Regions from separate parts of the Homo sapiens genome. Here region 1 is linked to region 2. Evidence: promoter capture Hi-C in human tissues and cell types (Jung and others, 2019). All regions are on one chromosome and are shown on one strand. The core of a region is centred on a gene start or on the middle of the fragment in contact, and the rest is flanking DNA. Distances in the headings are between cores, read along the strand shown. Region 1 overlaps CRK (CRK proto-oncogene, adaptor protein). Region 2 holds the start of OVCA2 (OVCA2 serine hydrolase domain containing).

Region 1 (3,715 bases), core at 401-2,900, 600 kb after region 2:
CTCCTGACCTCAGTGATTTGCCTGGCTCTGCCACCCAAAGTACTGGGATTACAGGCGTGAACCCCCACGCCCAGCCTCTAGCCACTTTAGGAACTTTATTTATTAGATAGGTATTTGACCCCATTTTGCAGAGTCGGGGGTGAGGCACACAGAAGTTAGGTAACTCAGACAGCTAGAAAATGAGAGCCACAATGCACCAAACCTGCAAAGGACCGTCCTCATACCCACCATCTTTAGAACATTCTATTTGCTTAGGAGACCATATATCTTCTCAGATGGAAACCAGTGGCCTTCTGTCGCCCAGGCTGGAGTGCAGTGGCGCGATCTCTGCTCACTGCAAGTTCCGCCTCCCGGGTTCAAGCGATTCTCCTGCCTCAGCCTCCCGAGCCAGTGGCCTTTTTAGCGTTTTGTATTGGTGGGTATTTATCTAAGCAACCCCTGTAAATACCACAGGCAGAGAAGGAAGGGAGGGAGCAAGAATTGAGGAAAAAAGGGAAAAGAGGGCCGGGTGTGGTGGCTCGCGCCTGTAATCCCAGCACTTTGGGAGGCTGAGGCTGGCTGATCACTTGAGGTCAGGAGTTCGAGACCAGCCTGGCCAACATGGCAAAACCCTGTCTTTCCTAAAAATACAAGAATTAGCCAGGTGTGGTGGTGGGCGCCTGTAATCCCAGCTACTCGAGAGGCTAAGGAAGGGAGAATTGCTTGAACCCAGGAGGCAGGAGGCAGAGGTTGCAGTGAGCTGAGATCGCACCACTGTACTCCAGCCTGGGCAACAGAGGGAGACTCCGTCTCAAAAAAAAAAAAAAAAAAAGGAAAAGAGAAAGTGCTGTGAGATCAAGGAGAGCCTGGCCCGCTCTTGTAGACCCGTCAGAAGTGATTGGGCCTATTTTAGCCCACAGAGCCCTCAGGTGTTCTTCATGAAACCTTCAGGGAGGGAGTGGCCTTGTAAAAATGGTCGTAACCTGAGGCTTGAAATGCTTGGAAGGCTTAGAAGTAACGGGCTGAGCAGGTACCGAGAAGCTGAAAGGATATCCTCTCCTTGCATTGATTTTGATTTCCGTTTGTGTGACTTCCTAACTCCACGTTCAGAATCCAGCACAGGGTGATGTAGAACAAGTCATTGAGGTTTTCCAAGTCCCAGATAGCTATGAGAATCCTGTCGTTGCTTCTGTTCTCTAGACTGGCTGACTGTGCCTCCTTCCTTTCCCGCCCTTCTATTTCCTGCCTTTGGCTGTTTGTGGTTGGAAGGAGAGGAAAGAGAGAAAAGGAGCCGGAACACACAGCCATGGTGAGGTTTGGGCTTATCTGGGACTTATGTGTGTTCTGTTCTCCTCCCTTCCTTCTGGAGTTTGGATCAATGAAGCTTGATGGCCCCCAGCAGTTCACAGAAACGGGCATTTCTCTGTGAAATTATTACAGTGTCAGAATAGAAAAATAATTTATAAGTAAAGTACATCAAAGGTTTTCCGTGGCGTTTTGCTTACGTTTCTGTGTCTATTGGGATTGCCAAACAAAAAGAAAGTCACGGCCGGGCGTGGTGGCTCACGCCTGTAATCCCAGCACTTTGGGAGGCCGAGGCGGGCGGATCACGAGGTCAGGAGATCGAGACCATCCTGGTTAACACGGTGAAACCCCGTCTCTACTAGAAATACAGAAAAAAAAACCCGGGCGTGGTGGCGGGCACCTGTAGTCCCAGCTGCTCGGGAGGCTGAGGCAGGAGAATGGCGTGAACCCAGGAAGCGGAGCTTGCAGTGAGCCGAGATGGCGCCACTGCAGTCCAGCCTAGGCGAAAGAGCGAGACTCCGCCTCAAAAAAAAAAAAAAAAAAAGTCATAGTGAGCCCAGTTCACGCTATTGTGGCATTTGACCAAGAAGAGAATTAAACCTGCTTCCTACCTTTGCGCCAGATGATCTGCCAAGTTTTCTCTCACTCATCTTTCAGAGCGACTTGGCTTAGTAGTCTCATTTGTTCTTTCCCCGCCAAAATGTATTTCGCTCGGCCTGCTATGGTAACAGTGGCTGGCAGGGGGTGGTTACCTTCCTTCTTCCAGTGGAGAGAGTACCTTGGAAGTGTTCACAGATGGTCGTAGTTGCTCATGGCGATTCTGTTGTATCTCAGGACACAGTGCGTTATTCCAACTGTCTTTAGCAGGAACATAGATCCAGGTGAAGGTGAAAGCCGGGTGGGAGGTTGTCTTCCTAAGACGTGCCGCTTTCTCCTTGTTCACCAGCCACACTGTGCTTGCTGTGTTATCTCCAACAATGCTGTGAACTTCTCTGAGCTTCTCCAGTCTAGGAAGGCATTGTGCTTAGCTTCTTTCCATCACTTCAGAGTTAGGCTTATTAAGATAATATCTGGCTGGGCGCGGTGGCTCATGCCTGTCATCCCAGTACTTTGGGAGGCCGAGGCAGGCAGATCACAAGGTCAAGAGATCAAGACCATCCTGGCCAACATGGTGAAACCCCATCTCTTCTAAAAATATAAAAATTAGCAACACTTAACTGAGCACTGACCTGCCAACCACTGTCCCAAAAGGACAACTAATAGAACACCTTGGCATGTAGTTGGGTAAACCTTAGCAAGGGAGCTTTTCTCCACCCAGCTGTGATCAGAACCATTTCTAAGCCATGGGTGCCCAGGTGGCCTCCTTACCACTCTGCCCTAGAGTTTTCTTGACCAGGCAGTGCTAAGTAGGTCCCTATGCGCTCACACTGACCCTGTCCTAAACAGTTTCTCCATAGGCCTGAAAGATCACCCAGAATTAGCCTAATGGTGATAGGCAAGGTAGCCATGAATCTCCTTGACTACCAGACTTGAATAGGAATTATTCTCCATCAGTGATCCTCCTCAATAAAGAGAATCTCCAGAATATAGCACCTCCGTGCTCTGCTACAGTCATAACCAAAATCCCCTCTCCAGTCCTGCCCTCGGAACTTTTGCGATCATCTTCTATTGGTGCATGAGGAGTGTTTGCCATAGAGGACAGTCCTGGCACTCGCACCCCTTTCAGTGTCTTAAATTGGAGAGACAGCCAGTATTCCTGAGTCTGGGCTGTTCACTGTTTTAAGCTGACAGCTGTGAATTCCACAGGTGGACTTTGGGTAATATGAAAAATGTACGGCTCTCCTTCAGATGGTCTCATCATTCATTTGGATGGAAAGAGAAGGCACTCATCAGTACTCTTTCTACCGGAAGGACTTTTCATTGGCTTCCAAAGTTAACATTGTGTCTTATTACCTCTCTCCAATAGTGGAATGATTTTTTTTTTTTTTTGACGGTGTCTCGCTCTGTCGCCCAGGCTGGAGTACAGTGGCGCGATCTTGGCTCACTGCAAGCTCTGCCTCCCAGGTTCATGCCATTCTCCTGCCTCAGCCTCCCGAGTAGCTGGGACTACAGGCGCCCGCCACCATGCCCGGCTAATTTTTTGTATTTTTAGTAGAGACAGGGTTTCACCATGTTAGCCAGGGTGGTCTGGATCTCCTGACCTCGTGATCCGCCTGCCTCGGCCTCCCAGAGTGCTGGGATTACAGGCATGAGCCATCGTGCCTGGCCCCTATGCCATTCTTTTTTTTTTTTTTTTCTTTTGAGATGGAGTTCTGCTCTTGTTGCCCAGGCTGGAGTGCAATGGTGCGATCTCAGCTCACCGCAGCCTCCACCTCCCGGGTTCCAGCGATTCTCCTGCCTCAGCCTCCCAAGTAGCTGGGATTACAGGCAT
Region 2 (4,114 bases), core at 1,615-4,114:
TCTGGTTGTCAGAAAAATGGGCTGGAGTATTTGTGCTGTGTCCCTGACCATAATTCCTGCTCAGTTGCTTAGCTCCCTGGCAACTATGTCTGAGGGCTAAACAGGAGTTGGTGTGATCTTCCAGAAAAAGAACAGGCTTCTTGTCTTGCAGAGGCAGGAAGTCAGAAAACAAGAGTGTGTGTGTGTGTGTCAGGGGGTGGGGGGTGTCAGGTGGCACTGGAAATGGGAGGGAACTCATTAAGAGTGGGCAATTGGCCAGGTGAGGTGGCTCACGCCTGTTAATTCCAGCACTTTGGGAGGCCAGGACAGGTGGATTGCTTGAGCTCGCAAGTTGGAGACCATCCGCACAACATGGTGAGACCCCTTCTCTACAACAAATACAAAAATTAGCCAGGCATGGTGATTTGCGCCTGCAGCCCCAGCTGCTTGGGAGGCTGAGGTGGGAGGATGGATGGCTTGAGCCCGGGAGGTGGAGGCTGTCAAGATTGTGCCACTGCACTCCAGCCTGGGTGATAGAGTCAGACCTTGTCTTTAAAAGTAAAGAAAACAAAAAAAGAGTGGGCAATCCTAGGTAGGTGCAGTGGCTCAGGCCTATAATCCTAGCACTTTGGGAGGCTGAGGCAGGTGGATTGTTTGAGCTAAAGAGTTTTGAGACCAGCCTGGGCAACGTGGCAAAACCCTATCTCTACAAAAAAATATAGAAATTAGCCAGGCGTGGTGGCGCATGCCTGTAACGCCACCTACTCAGGAGGCTGAGACAGAACTGCTTGAACCCAGGAGGCTGAGGTTGCAGTGAGCCAGGATCTTGGCCACTGCTCTCCAGCCTGGGTGACAGAGTGAGCCTGTCTCAAAAAAAAAAAAAAAAAGAGTGAGCAATCCTCAAAGTATCCAAGAACAACTACACGCCCCAAGGGGAAAACCAGCTGGATTGCTTAGGCCTTGGCTGTAGTCACTAAAGAATGGCATCAATCTCAGAAACCCTCAAGATGGGGTCAATTTAGGAAGAAGCTGTTTATTCTGTACTGTCTTTGGCCTCCACCTAAGGTCTGGCATCGACCCACCCTTCAGGCTCATAGTTCAGCGAGGTTAGAGCACTTAGGGAGAAGCAGGTAACACATCCAGGGTTTGAGAGAAGACCAGCACACAACTCTCAGTGATCTGGATAGAGGAAGACTAAATTACTGTGGTTCAGGCAGCCTTGCCAGGTGATGTCTTCCCAAAACTTCTCAGATGTATATTCCTCCCTGATTGTGCCACCTAGGCCTCCTTCCCTTCAGTTTGGGACTTAAAACTTCCACCAATAACGTGAGTATGTGCACCCATGCAGCAGCCTGTCCGAGGACTCACAACTGGAGACACCTCCCTGCTTGGCGCTGCCCAGAAAACTATGTAGATGGCCAAGAAACCGACTTCCATTATAAAATGTTTTTCTGTGTGTACCAGGAAAAAGATGCTCAAAATCCAAATCACCACTTTATTATGTGGCAGTCACCATGGTGCCAGCCTCTGCCTTCCCCATGTCACCCTCCTAATCCAGGGCTCTCCAACCATATTCATGTTTGCGTTTTCACAAGTCAATGTCCATTAAGGCCTTGTGCTCCCCTTTTCTTCAGTACAGGGCAGGGCCCTTATAATTTGGGTCTCAAGAATTGATAGTTGTCTCTTAACTGGTTCTGGTGAGGCGCACTCACAGCAGTGAGTGGAGGGTCCTGGGAGGGCATGGATGACGGAGGCTGCCCCTAGAGGAGCTGGATGTAGGAGCAGAGACATTTCTTGATCTTTCACTCTGCAAACTGGTCCAAGAACTTGAGGTAGGCCTGACGCTGGGGTGCAGCTGCTGGAATGAAGTGGCCACCAGAGTGGGTGAGGGTGATGGCTCCGGGAAATTGGCTGGCCAGTTGCACACTCTCCTGAGAGGGGATGACTTTGTCAGTGTCCCCAAAAACATGGAGCGAAGGCAATGACAAGGGCCTTTGCAGGATGGATTCCTTGAACCCAATGCCCCGGGGACAGAAACCAGACACCAAGAGGATAAACCGTGGCAAGGGGAAGCGGGGATCGCCTGCCTGGCCCAGGGCACACACAAGGGCTGCTAGCGCAGCCCCTTGGCTGAAACCAAGAAGGCCGTCAAAAGGCCCCAGCCTGTTCAGTGCCTGTGCCACCATCCCCAGTGATTCCTCCAGGCCCCTGCAGACGGCGGGCTCTTCCAATGCGGAGAAAACGTCGGCCTCCTGCTCTGAAAACCACCAGCCTCGAGGCTGCTCCTCCGGAGGGCAGGACCCTACAGCGATATGAGGAAAAAGGATGGGATTAGGGCATGGGAGGCTCCAGGAAGGAAAGAAATGAGAAAGGGCAGGAGGGTTCGAGATGACAGAGAGAAAAAGGGAATCGAGGCAAAAGTCTGGGGGAAATGAGAGGGGGGAAATGAGTGGATTGGCCTGAACAGGAGACAGCGGAGGAAGACGGTGAAGGCGGAAGCCTGGGAGGACAGGCTGCAGTTTGAGCAAAGAGGGTATGGGTCGCGAGAAATGAAGGGTGTGGACTGGGTGGGAGGAATGCGGGTGGACGCAGGGTGGGGGATGCTGAAGGGTGTCGAGGGGGACGAAACAAGATGGAGGAAACTGAGTGCGTTTCCGGAGCGGGGCTTGTCTCACCGAAGTCTGATCTGGCGCCCTCGGGGCCCGGGGGGTCGGGGACCGGGTGCGGGCCGCTGAGGCACACGAGCTCGGCGCGACCCCGCAGCGCCTTCCTCAGCGCCCCGGTCTTCTCACGGAAGCCCCGCTCGCTCTGCCGGAAGCCCGCCAGGCACAGGACCCGCAGGGGTCGCTGCGCGGCCATTATGCCCGGCAAGGAGCGACGGAAGCACCGGAAGCGGTCTTTCCCCGAGCGGAAGCACAATGCACGGGGCGGAACCGAACGTCAGCACCGCCCCGAGGGCGGGCCTCGGAGCGCCAAGGCGTTCCCATGACAACGGCAAAAGGCGGGGCGCACCCAGAGCGGGGGCTGATACCTGAGGCCCGGGAGCGCGTCAAGGAGCCAGCGGCGCCACCTTCTCGTCCCTGCAGCTGCAGTCCTCGCAAGCCACGGCCGAAGGGGGACGCGCGGACCCCTCCTGCACCTGAGGTCGCAGACTTTGGTTAGGGTCTCGCTCCTGCGACCCTGCGTTTCCCTCCGCTCCGCTCCTGTGCGTTTCCCGTCGCGGTCGCAGGGCGGCGGCCAGTGCCCAGGCGCGGTCTCTCCTCCCTCCTGGAAGCCCCCGCCTACCTTCCCCCGCGCGGGCCGGCCCGGGGCGTGGGGACGGCGGTCCTGGCCGTGGTTCACCGTCCAGGGCCCCAAGGAGCTGCCAGCGTAGAAGTCCATCGGGTAGGGCTGCTGCCAGGAAATGTCCCTCAGAGCCACGGCCGCCTAGGGGAGGGGAGGGAGGGACAATAACATCTGCCAGTGTTTTTCTGCCCCTGGATTACTGAATTCAGTCCTCACGACGGCCTGTGAAGGGCACACTGTCCCCTGCCACAGAAGGGAACTGTGTGGTTCAGGGCCTTGCCTAAGGCTACACAGCTAGGAAGTGACTCCGCTGGAGAAATCGAGACAGACTCCGGAATCTACGAACATAACGAAGTGCTGCCCACCCACCCCACTCCACTCCAGACCTCACCTTTGAGAACCACGTCCAAAGCCCACTCTCTCCCAGAGCTTGGTGTTACCTCATAGGGTGTCAGCAGCGGCTTGGGGAAGGCTGTGCCCCAGTCAATGGAGAGACGTGGACATGCCACCTGCACCCACCTGGGAAGGGAAGCCAGGTCAGACCCTAGGAAGGGCCTCCTCGTCGCCCAGGCAGCATGCTGAAGAACATGACAGTGCCCCCAGCACACCCATTCATTAACAGGCTTTATGAATCCTAAAGTAAAGACAGTGACCCACTGCTGTTTGGAATACTGTATTGTTGCGTGTTTTCTCCTGTTTCCTCTGCCGACAATGAGCTTTCCAGGGCAGCTCACTGGTGATAGTATCCCCAGAACCACATTTAGTACCTGGTACAGGGCAGGTGTCAGCCACCGCTCAAACTCATCTCACAAGGACAAATGTGATGTTGCCATTGCCTCTGAGCCCCAAA

Evidence for each region. The method cuts DNA at HindIII sites, captures the fragments that hold promoters and counts their contacts. A contact is called where the count stands out against the background at its distance.
Region 1: a contact is called between a fragment that was not itself captured here and the fragment with the promoter of OVCA2 in region 2, in 1 of the 25 tissues and cell types used here (lymphoblastoid cells).

Annotation. Positions count from the first base shown.
Region 1 is chr17:1,444,704-1,448,418 of GRCh38, reverse strand. All of the region lies in intron 1 of CRK (CRK proto-oncogene, adaptor protein), which reads left to right. Among named protein-coding and RNA genes, the nearest start is that of CRK, 9.7 kb to the left of the region's middle. The HindIII fragment of the contact is 7,305 bases long and covers 1-3,715 here.
Region 2 is chr17:2,040,772-2,044,885 of GRCh38, reverse strand. It overlaps OVCA2 (OVCA2 serine hydrolase domain containing), which reads right to left and starts at 2,864. Exons shown (of 2, transcript NM_080822.3): 1 at 2,655-2,864; 2 at 1,461-2,281. The coding sequence starts at 2,838. The coding sequence ends at 1,782. DPH1 (diphthamide biosynthesis 1) reads right to left here. Exons shown (of 13, transcript NM_001383.6): 10 at 3,705-3,783; 11 at 3,265-3,405; 12 at 3,011-3,118; 13 at 988-2,281. The coding sequence ends at 3,029. RefSeq lists silencers at 2,562-2,761, 3,272-3,361 and an enhancer at 2,952-3,011. The HindIII fragment of the contact is 24,727 bases long and covers 1-4,114 here.